3 separate regions of the Homo sapiens genome follow, and all the other regions are linked to region 1. The links are contacts of gene promoters, found by promoter capture Hi-C in human tissues and cell types (Jung and others, 2019). All regions are on one chromosome and are shown on one strand. Each heading gives the region's core, a stretch centred on a gene start or on the middle of the fragment in contact. The rest is flanking DNA. Distances are from core to core; before and after follow the strand shown. Region 1 holds the start of SGSM1 (small G protein signaling modulator 1). Region 2 overlaps PIWIL3 (piwi like RNA-mediated gene silencing 3). Region 3 overlaps SGSM1 (small G protein signaling modulator 1).

Evidence for each region. Contacts are between HindIII fragments. The study calls those that stand out against the background at their distance.
Region 2: a fragment that was not itself captured here is called in contact with the fragment with the promoter of SGSM1 in region 1 in 1 of the 25 tissues and cell types used here (liver).
Region 3: a contact is called between a fragment that was not itself captured here and the fragment with the promoter of SGSM1 in region 1, in 2 of the 25 tissues and cell types used here (dorsolateral prefrontal cortex and liver).

Annotation. Positions count from the first base shown.
Region 1 is chr22:24,803,589-24,807,460 of GRCh38, reverse strand. It overlaps SGSM1 (small G protein signaling modulator 1), which reads right to left and starts at 1,250. Exons shown (of 25, transcript NM_001098497.3): 1 at 1,117-1,250; 2 at 977-1,020. The coding sequence starts at 1,135. RefSeq lists a silencer at 1,203-1,412. The HindIII fragment of the contact is 18,100 bases long and covers 1-3,872 here.
Region 2 is chr22:24,750,281-24,754,152 of GRCh38, reverse strand. PIWIL3 (piwi like RNA-mediated gene silencing 3) reads left to right here. Exons shown (of 21, transcript NM_001255975.1): 8 at 1-139; 9 at 2,655-2,766. Among named protein-coding and RNA genes, the nearest start is that of PIWIL3, 23 kb to the left of the region's middle. The HindIII fragment of the contact is 4,992 bases long and covers 1-3,872 here.
Region 3 is chr22:24,851,713-24,855,584 of GRCh38, reverse strand. It overlaps SGSM1 (small G protein signaling modulator 1), which reads right to left. Exons shown (of 25, transcript NM_001098497.3): 6 at 522-589; 7 at 155-300; 8 at 1-36. Among named protein-coding and RNA genes, the nearest start is that of SGSM1, 47 kb to the right of the region's middle. The HindIII fragment of the contact is 6,903 bases long and covers 1-3,872 here.

The DNA.
Region 1 (3,872 bases), core at 1-2,500:
ATCACTCATTCACAGACTCATGCACCACACAATATACACACACAGACCCACCCTCACAAAAACAGATACAAAGACACACATAGATACGTGTACACACAGTGCAAAGAGATACACTTAGGTATCTCCAGACAGATGCACAGACATTCTCATACGCACACACTCACAGCCACAGGTCCTCACCCATGCAGGTATACACACCAGAGCACGCAGTCCAGGCATCGAGATGCTACCCCAAGGACTATAAATTCTGTCTATGGGGTTCTGGGAGGTCATTGGCCATGAGCCCTAAAGACTAGACTGCCCCCCTCTCCACGCGCTGACCCCAAGGAGAGTGGAGGGGCAGAGGAATGGCAGAACCTCTCTGATTCTCACCCTCTGAATGTGGGGTGGGAGTGGGGCGGGGGGAGTGAAGGGACCCCTACTGCCAGGGGAGCAGCTCACTGACCCGTGACTCTCAGGGAGGGAGTCCCCTGGCTCTTGGAGGTGGCTCCAAGGACTGAGAATTCGGGGGCTGGGAAGGGAGGTTTTATTTTCCTTCTGCCTTTTCCTGAAGCGTGCCCCACCTTCGGCAGCCCCATTCAGAGCCCCTCCTCCAGCACACCCTGTGGGGGGCGTCCCCCTAGCAGCTTCTCTCTCTTGGAAGGTCCCCTTCCTGAGCCGCGCCCACCTGCTCCTCCACAAGAGGAGGTCCTATCGGGATACATCCAGGTGTGCCCCACACCTGGAGGGCCCTCACGCTACATCCGCCCCCGCAAAAAGCCTCAAATGGGCCAAAGCCTCCCCACACCTACGCCCACCCCCAAACTCCCTCGCTGCGCCTCCTGCCCTGCGGGAGGTCAATGCCCACCCAGGTGAGCCCCACACCTGTTCTGGCCGCCCCCCCGCCGCCAGAGGCCACCCTTCCACGAAGACTCTTTTCCCGTTTGGCCGCTGCTGCCGGGGGAGTCCTGCCCAGTGCCCCCACCCCGGCACCCACCTCCTTCTTGACGGTGCGTAGCAGCCTCTGTCGGGTCTCCGCCTCTGTGGGACAAGAAACGAGAGCCGCGGGTCAGCCGAGAGAGGGTGCGGGGGCCGGGCGCTGCCCTCCCGCCGCCCTCGTGTCCAGCGGCCTCTTACCCGCGGGGGCCGAGGCCATGGCTCCGAGCGCTGCGTTCCGAGTCCCAGGAGGCGGTGGCGGCGGTGGCGGCGGTAGCTCCTCCGGCCGCGGCGCTGCTGCTGCAGCCGCGGCGGGGCGGGGCCGAGCGCTGAGTGACGGCCGGAGGGCGCCCGACGTCAGGACCCGAGGCGGCCGCCCCACCCCTCCGGAAAGCCACCGCTCGGCGGGGCAGCCGGGTCGCCTGCGCCAGGAGCCTTCGCGCCAAGCACGCACGCTCCCTCCCGCGCACCCAGCGCCCGAGCCTCTCAGGCTCCCCCAACCTCCACGCCAGCGCCCGCGTCCCTCCCTCTTCCCTAGGGCGGGGAAGGAAAGCGTCCGTCCTGAACCCTCCTCTGTGGGCCAGGCTCCAGGAAGTCACAGGAAATGGTGGGGCTACTACCGATATTCTCCAAGCCTCAGTTTTCTCATCTTTAAAATGGGTATAATGTGGTATAAAATGGGCATAATGGGTCTCAGAACGATCTGAGCCTTAAGTGAGATATTGGATGTGAAGCCCTTAATACAGACCCAGGGGGAAAGGCCAGCGAGCATAAATGCTTGCCACTGTTACTGTTATTATTATTAATTATTATTATTGAGGGTCTTCCAGCCGGTCGCGGTGGCTCACGCCTGTAATCCCAACACTTTGGGAGGCCGAGGCGGGCAGATCACTTGAGGTCAGGAGTTCGAGACCAGCCTGGCCAACATAGTGAAACCCCGTCTCTACGAAAATACAAAAATTAGCCGGACATGATGGCGAGCTGCCTGTAATCCCAGCTACTGGGGAGGCTAAGGCAGGAGAATCTCTTGAACCCGGGAAGCAGAGGTTACAGTGATCCAACATGGCGCCATTGCACTCCAGCCTGAGCGACAGAGTGAGACTCCGTCTCAAAAAATAAAAAAAATACAAATACAAAAATTAGCCAGGCATGGTGGCGTGCTCCTGTAATCCCAGCTACTCAGGAGGCTGAGGCATGAGAATTGCTTGAACCCTGGAGGCAGAGGTGTCAGTGAGCCAAGATTGTGCCACCACACTCCAGCCTGGGCAACAAAAGTGAAACTCCATCTCAAAAAAAAAAAAAAAAAAAAGAGTCTTCCAAGATACACTGGTTATCCATTCAGGAGAGGCCGGGACTTAAGTGGCTCCCTCCCCGACATGCAGGTCACTGGAGGAGTGGGGTTTTCCCAGGAGTCTGGCCCCAAAAGGAGGCACTTGTCAGCCAGGATCTCTGGGGCTGAGCAAGCAGTGGGCTCTGTGGGAAAAGCCTTGTTCCATCAAGAGCCCCTGGTCACCCCAAGTCCCTAACTGTATCCACCCAGAATGCAACTCAGGTCAATATTTATTGAGCACCTACTCTGTGCCAAGTGACTGTGCTAGAGATTTCTAAGTGAGCAAGACAGACAATGAACTCTGCCCTCATGGAGTTTAGGAGGCGGACAACAAAATATGTAAGAAAAGGACAGACCATGCTGGAAAGTTCTGGAGAAAAATTAAGTAGGCAAGGGGGACAGGGAGGGCCCAGACCCCTGGGGATCGTATTCTGAAGTAGGGTGGTTGAGGGAGGCCCCACTGAGCAGGTGACATTTAAGCAAAGAGGAAAAGGAGTAGGCCATGGGGATTTCTGGAGGAAGAGCAGTTGAGTCAAGGGAACAGCAAATGCAAAGTCCCTGAGGAGGGAGTGTGTCCAGTCAAACAGTGACAAATAGCACAGATGCCTGTGGGGCTGGAGTGGTGTGAACAATGGGGACGGTGGTGGGATGTTGGCCAGAGAGGTGCAGGGCCAAAACCCTGTATGACTTTGATGGTGATGTTAAGGATTTGCAATGCCTTTTAGGGTCCCCCAGTATTCAGGCCTTCCTTCAGAAGGACTAGAGGGCAGCTTAGAGTGCCTCTCCGTGCAGCAGTGGATCCAGAGCCCCCTTTTTTCCATTGGTCAGTGTCAGGGGTCTCTGGCCGTAAGCCACAGAAGCTGACTTTGGCTTCCTCAGGCAAAAGGAAATAAACTGGGAAGATAATATGTGATCCCAGAGCCCATGGGAGCCTGGAGAACTGGGAAATGGGATGAAATCAAGGTGGCTCTGGAAGGCCAGAAAGGGGAATCTTGGGAATATTTGCCTGGCAAGGACAGTGTGGTTAGGGCACTGCTGCTCTGGTAAAGAGAATGCCATTCGTTTAAGGTTTTCATCCTATGGAGGGAGTGCCTGATTGTCCTGACCTGGGACACAAGCCTGCCCATTGGCTTGGGGAGAGGTGTCTCAATCACAAACCCCTGCTCCACAATCTCCAGCAAGTCCCCCAGGAGAATGGGAAATGGTTGCTTGGCAGCAAAAATAATCATATATTGCGCACCTACTATGTGGCAGGCACTGCGCTAAGGGCTTTGGGTTTTGCTCACATGATCTTATTGACCCTCCTTCCACCCCACGCTAACCCTATGAGCCTTATGTCATTGACAAAGCCAAGCCTGGAGGGGGTTTCATCCCTGTTTGTTTAACAAGTGTGTGGCCGCCAGGATTCTGACCTGAGGACCAAAGTGATTGATCCATTAGTTCCTCTCCTTGGCTTCACCCCTAAGTTAACTGGGGTACTTTAGGAAGGTGGTAGGGTGCCTAAGCCTCACTCTAGGGAATCATTTTTCAAAACCCACATTTTTCCTTTTCCTGCCAAGCACAAAGTCTGGGAAGTTGACCTGTGCTGGTCCTTGAAAACCTGGAGCTTTTCCTCCAAGATAAAGGA
Region 2 (3,872 bases), core at 534-3,033, 54 kb after region 1:
TCTGTGCCGATGTGAGCCACAAACTGCTCCGAATAGAAACTGCTTATGATTTCATAAAGAGAACATCTGCCCAGGCCCAGACAGGAAACATCCGAGAGGAAGTAACTAATAAATTAATTGGATCAATTGTTCTGACAAAGTAAGTCTGTCTTTTAAAAACCTATCCAATCACTTTAACTCCCCCTTCCCCCACCCCAAGAGATGGTCCTATAGTTTTCTAATCACTAAATGTTGAAGTTGAGGAGTAGAAATTGCAAGAACAACTGAACACGTCTCTCCTCTGGTTATACAACTTGGGAGAAGAATGTGTCAATTGTAGACTTCACTCTTCTTGAAATCCCTAATGCCAGTCCATTTGTTCTGAACCCTACCTTGCACATAACACTAAGCTGTTTCTGAATTTCTTTCCTTTTGCTCTTTTGTGGGCATTTAGCTGGTTTAAAAATCAGTGCTTAGTTATAACCCATCAGCAATTTCCCATTTGAAGGAAGTTTTAAAATCTTTCTACAGCAGAAACCTTAAATTGGTAAGAGAATGGATTTAAAGAACCAGTTACTTAGCCAACACAACCTTACAGGGACACAATTTGAGGACTCACACTTCTCAATTTTAAAACTTACCAGAAAGTTCTGGTAATCAAGACAGTGTGATGTTGGTCTAAAGACAGACAGAGACCAATGAAATAGAGTACAGAAGGTTAACCCTCCACTTCGTCAGCTGACTTCTGACAAGTGTGTCAAGGCAATTCAATAGGGGAAAGAATAGTCTTTTCAATAATGTTGCTGGGACAACTGAACATCCACCTGCTTCTTCCTCATGCAATTCACACAATTCCAGTTTAACTCAAAAACCAACTCAATAGACCTAGATGTAAGAACTAAAAGCATAACATTCTTAGAAAATATAGGACTGAATCTTTTTGACTTTGAGCTAGGGAAACCTTAGATAAGCCACTCAAAGCAGAAGTGATAACAAAAGAAACATAGATACATTGGGCTTCACCAAATTAAAAACTTATTCAAACTATACTATCAAAATTGTGAAAACACAACTGGAAAAACTGGGGAAAATGTTTGCAAATCACATAAGTAACCTGTATCTAGAATATACAAACAATACTTGAGAGACAACATAATTTTTAAAATGGACAAAAGATCTGATTAGATACTTCTCCAGATATATTTCTTAAAATGTACAAATGATCAATAGATGCGTGAAAACGTTTAACATCAGTAGCCATCATGGAAATGCAAGTGAAAACCACAATGAGATATCATTTCACACCCACTAGGATGGTTAAAATTAGATATTGACAAGTGTTGGCAAGGATGTGGAAAGATCAGAAGCAACTCTCTCGTATGCTGCTTGTAGGAATATTAAATGGTATGGCTTCTTTGTAAAACAGTCTGGCACTTTCTTAAAATGCTAACGATATGCATTACTGAAGTGGCCTCGTTTGAGGAAATATATGAGGTTTGTCTCACACTAAGGAAAACAAAGACATAGACCCACAAAGTGTGGGTTTAGGAGCGGAAAGCTGAATAGGTGAAAGAAGAGAAAAGTGCCCCCTTGCAGGGGGAGGGGCATTCCGAATGAATCTCCTGCTTTGCAGAGGGATGCAGTTGGTTTTATAGAGGGGCTTGAGGAGGTGGTGTCTGATTTACGTAGGGCCCAGAGGATTGGTTGGACCAGGTGTGCCATTTACATAGCCTGCGAAGAGGCTGGCCATCCCACCCTAATCTTTCATTATGCAGATGTGATCTCCATCTGGTGGGCGGGCACCATAACACCTGCACACATGGCAGGGACAAGGAGAAGGGAAGAGAACCTCCATGTTGGATATACTGGCTTCTGGCATAACTGCCAGCATCCAACTATGTAAGCTTCCAGCTTGCTTATCTATGTTTGCAGCTTGATTTTTTCAGGCTGCTTTTTGTTAGAAAAATGATTTGGAGGCTGCTTTTTTATTAAGAGAAAATTCCACCGAGAACTTTTACCCTTACTAACCACCTAAATTCCATTTTAACTCCTATATCATCACCATATGAACCAGAAATTTTACTCCTACTTAAATACACAAGAGAAATGAGAACATATTTATTAAAATCGGCACATAAATGTTCATAACCTTATTCATGGTAACCAAAAGTATATACAACCATAATGTCCAGCTGGTGAATGGATAAACAAAAGGTGGGATATCATACAATAGAATATTATTTGGAAATGAAAAGAATTAAGTGCCAAGACTTACTACAGCATGGATGAACCTTAAACATGATGCTAAGTGAAAGAAGCCAGTCGGGAAAGAGCACACGTTGCATGACTCAGTTTACGTGAAATGAATGAGCAAATGTGTTGAGACACGAAGTAGGCTAGTGGCTGCCTGAAGGCTGGTGGATTAGGCTAAAATGGGAAGTGACTGCCTATGGTTATGCTGCTGCTTTGTCTTGATGATTGCACAACTCTGTGGCTGTAGTAAAAACCAGGTGATCGTATGCTCAGATGGGTGAGTTGTACAGTATGTGAATTACATCTTAAGTAAATCTAATATATTCTGCAATTCCTTGCAGGATTAAAAATGTCTATTTTCTGTGTGGATGGTTCCATGTGATGAATAAGTCAAATAATACCATATTGTAATTATTCCACAGATACAACAACAAAACCTACAGAGTAGATGATATTGATTGGAAGCAGAATCCTGAAGACACATTTAACAAATCAGATGGCAGCAAAATCACCTATATAGACTACTACAGGCAGGTATGAAACTGTATTTCTTTAAATATATTTAAATTGTAAACCTTCATGTATTTCAGTTTGTGTTATTTAGCTACTTGAACATATTTGTCATATAAACATACATATTTTCCTTTTAGGGGATTATAGCTTGACTTATCTATTATCCATGCATCCACGTGCCTTGTATATAGGGTAATGTCACATAACTAGAATGGTGCCAGTGTGATCCCTTCTTTCCCTTCTTTCAGTCTTAAAAGTGGCTACTATCATACTTTTTTTTTTTTGAGTTGGAGTCTCGTTCCGTCTCCCAGGCTGGAATGCAGTGGCATGATCTCTACTCATTGCAACCTCTACCTTTCAGGTTCAAGCAATTTTCCTGCCTCAGCCTCCCAAGTAGCTGGGACTACAGGCACCTGCCACCACGCCTGGCTAATTTTTGTATTTTTAGTAGAGACGGGGTTTCACCATATTGGTCAGGCTGGCCTCGAGCTTCCGACCTCAGGTGATCCGCCTGCCTTGGCCTCCCGAAGTGCTGGGATTACAGGCATGAGCCACTGCATCCAGCCTACTACCATAGTTTTTTAAATGTGGTTGGGTTGTTTGGTAGATAATCAAATATGGGCCGGGCGCAGTGGCTCACACCTGTAATCCCAGCACTTTGGGAGGCCAAGGAGGGCGGATCACCTGAGGTCAGGAGATCGAGACCAGCCTGACCAAAACGGAGAAACCCCGTCTCTACTAAAAATACAAAATTAGCCGGGCATGGTGGCACGTGCCTGTAATCCCAGCTACTCAGGAGGCTGAAGCAGGAGAATTGCTTGGACCCGGGTGGCGGGGGTTGCAGTGAGCCAAGATCGCGCCGTTGCACTCCAGCCTGGGCAACAGGAGTGAAACTCCATCTCAAAAAAAAAAAAAAGAAAAAAAATCAAATGTGGTAAGACTTCAGATAAGAAAATATTACTTATCTAGAAATCTCAGCCCTGTAGAACTCAGTCCAAAAAGAATAAAAATGATTAACATGTAAAATGATGTCAGTTATGTGCTAATCTTGTAAGACATGGATTCCTCAATCTGAGTGTTCACTGTGAAGAAGCAGCCACTTTTGGCCAGCCAGGGCAGATGGAAAA
Region 3 (3,872 bases), core at 426-2,925, 48 kb before region 1:
GTCATCCATGCTGCCACTGGAATGCCTCTTCTGGATCTGGTAGAGAGTGACGGGAGACAGAGGGATGAGGCCTGGGGTGATTTTCAGGGCTCCTACCCTGCTTCCTGCCCTCATGTAAGGTCCCTCCCACTGCCCCACTGTCCACCCCACTCACACAGAGGGCAGGACGCTTGGTGGGCGAGTCCTGCCGCACGTGGGAGCTGTGGATGCGGTGCCTCTGGACAAGTTCGTCAGCCGAGGGATCGGTCCAGAAGTGATCTGCAGTCTTCATCTTGGTGTACTCTAGGGCACAGGGCCCCACTGAGGGGCATGTGGGGGCTGGAAACCCACTGCCCCGGAAAGTCCTCCCGCATGTCTACCAGCAGATGGCCGCCCATCTCACTACCCTCCCCTCCAGCCAGCTAGAACAGTGCTGCATTTCCATGGGCAAGGCTGGACAGGGGTGAGAGAGTCCTGGAGAAGGTGCCCCTCAGACTCAAGACCACGGGTCTAGATGAAGCTCAGCACACAGGACAACTTACCCAACAAAGATGCAAGGATGGGGCCGTCCACAGGGTCCATCAGGAGAGCTTCCTTCTCATAGTATTTACTAGCAAGAGGAGAGAATATGCAGGTTTGGATGGAGACCAGCAGAGGACGCACAATCCACAGATGAGAGTTCAATCCCCAGTGTCACTCGGTTACCACCCAGAGCCTCAGCTGCCCCATCTGTAAAATGGGGATAATAATAATATAGCTCATAGGGCTGAAAAAAGGATTTCTTTTTTTTAAGATAAGGTCTTTCTCTGTCACACAGGCTGGAGTGCAGTGGTACAATCAAAGCGCACTGTAACCTCGAACTCCTGGGCTCAAGTGATCCTTCCACTTCAGCCTCCTAATTAGCTGGGGCTAGAGGCATGCGCCACCACTGGCTAATTTTCAAATTTTAAATTTTTGGTAGATATAGGGTCTCATTATGTTGCCCAGGCTGGTCTTGAATTCCTGGCCTCAAGTGATCCCACCACCTTGGCCTCCAAAGCACTGGGATTACAGGCATAAGCCACCTGTAAGCCCAGCCTGCTGGAAGGACTTTTGAGAGAACCAAAAATTAAAGGTATTTAGCGGGGTGCTCAGCATGTACCTCCTTAACACATGGTCATGATAGAGCCTTTATAATAGTAACAAGAATAATAATTAGCAGGTTGTGGAGGCCTGGCTGACTCTATCTGCCTCTACCACATCTCCCATTTGAGACAGGAAGTGACTTAGAGGCTCAGATGATGTCTGCCCTTCTATTACTGGGGCAACCAAATGCTGTTTAGCAGCAGTGCGTACTGAAAGGCTGTGTAACAGGCTTTCCTGCCTTGATAACTAATATTGAGAGCACTGGCCTCAAATATGCTCAAAAATGCCCCCTGGGATCTGGCTCTGAAAAATAGCAAGTGATGCCATCTGACATGGTTTGGCTGTGTCCTCACCCAAATCCCAACTTGAATTGTATCTCCCAGAATTCCCACATATTGTGGGAGGGACCCAGGGGGAGGTAATTGAATCATGGGGGCTGGTATTTCCCATGCTATTCTTGTGATAGTGACTAAGTCTCACGAGATATGATGGGTTTATCAGGGGTTTCTGCTTTTGCATCTTCCTCATTTTTCTCTTGCCGCCGCCATGTAAGAAGTGCCTTTTGGCCAGGCGCAGTGGCTCACACCTGTAATCCTAGCACTTTGGGAGGCCAAGGTGGGCGGATCATGAGGTCAGGAGATCGAGACCATCCTGGCTAACACGGTGAAACCCCATACCTACTAAAAATACAAAAAAAAAAAAAAAAAAAAATTCACCAGGCGTGGTGGTGCCTGTAGTCCCAGCTACTCGGGAGGCTGAGGCAGGAGAATGGCGTGAACCTGGGAGGCGGAGCTTGCAGTGAGCCAAGATGGCGCCACTGCACTACAGCCCAGGCAACAGAGCAAGACTCCATCTCAAAAAAAAAAAGAAGTGCCTTTTGCCTCCTGCCATGATTCTGAGGCCTTCCCAGCCATGTGGAACTGTAAGTCCAATTAAACGTCTTTTTGTTCCCAGTTTTGGGTATATCTTTATCAGCAGCATGAAAACGAACTAATACACCATCAACACAATGTTTGTGCTGAATGTTTTTGGATTTGTTTGTTTGAGTTATTGTGTAGTGGTTTCTAATTTCTTGAAAACTCATACAGTCTAGAAACAATTTCAGGATTGAAAAGAACCTTGTTCTGACCTCCCAAGGGATCTCAGGCCCACAGAGGGTAAGCGATTTATTTGCTGGAGGCCACAGAGCAGGCAGATACAGGCTTGGGCTGAGCCCACATGGCTCAGCTCTTGCCAACATACAGAAGGAAGTAAAGGACACAGGATCTGGAGTGAGACAGAGTGGGTGGGAGCCCAGCTCTGCCTCTCCCTGCCTTGCTGTGTGTCACTGGGCAAGTGACACCCCTCTCTGAGCTTTGGTCCTCAGCTGTAAAATGGGAGGAAGTATAGAACTCAAATGCCTGGATTGTTGGAAGGATTAAATGACAACTTGCTTACATAGCACAGCACAGAGCCCAACATCAGGAAATTCTCACAAAATGGTGGCAACATCATCGTAATCTTACCCCCCAAGAGTCTTCCATCAACTGGAATATCGTATGAGCCAGAATTGACATGCTCTGGACTTATTCAATATCAAGGCTGTACATTTTGGTGTCAAATCTGAAGATAATACATCAAAACACTTTTCACTTTGCCATCACCCAGTTTCTAAAAATCAGCAGAATTATACGATCAAAAACTTTGAACATGCTGCCTTAAAAATCAGCAAGTAGGGGTCTCAAAATAAATAAAAAACGACCAGGCACAGTGGCTCATGCTTGTAATCCCAGCACTTTGGGAGGCCAAGGTGGGAGCATCACCTGAGGCCAGGAGTTCGAGACCAGTCTGCCCAATATGGTGAAACCCTGTTTCTACTAAAAATACTAAATTAGCCAGGAGTGGTGGTGCATGCCTGTAAAACCAGCTACTTGGGAGGCTGAGGCATGAGAATCGCTTGAACACGGGACGCAGAGGTTGCAGTGAGTCAAGATTACACCATTCTACTCCAACCTGGGCAACAGAGTGAGACTCCATCTCAAAAATAAAAATAAATTTAAAAATTAGCAGGTAGAGTTGGAACCGAGGTGTGACTGTAAGAAGTAGCTGAAGGGAGTTTCTTTGGGGTGATGAGGTTTATTTCGGAATAATTCTGTATCCTGATGGTGATGTGGGTTATATGAAACTACACATGCGTTAAAAGTTTCATAGAACTGTATAAAAAAATTCAGTAAATATAAAAATTGATGAAATCCAAAAAAGTTTTGCAGTTAGTTAATAGTATTGTACCAATGTCAATTTCCTGGTTTTGATCACTGCACTATGGGTATGTAAAATGTTATCATTGGGGTTAGGCAATTAGTAATCTCTGTACTAATTTTGCAACTTCTATGTAAATGTAAATTAAAAATAAAAAGTTGAAATGGAAAAAAAGCAGGTTGACATTGCTTCTCAAATAAATTACTAATTCCCTTTGACCAACTTAATCAGCAGGTCATATGCTCAAGGTCATATGCCAAAGGCAATAATTAAAGAGGCCCAGAAACCTTCATGGGGCAGGAGGCAGAGACATGTTATTACTAGAAGGTAAATAGGGAACTGGAGATCCAGAGCTTGGATTTCTTGCAGTTTCTTTCCTGTCTCTAGGCCTCTGCACCTGCTATTCCCTCCACCAGAAACACTTTGTTCCCCATCCCATCACCTGGCTAATGCCTCCATGCTCTTCAAATGGAAGCTTAACCGTTGCGCCATCCAGGACACTTTCCCTGACCACTGGGAGAAAATTATCA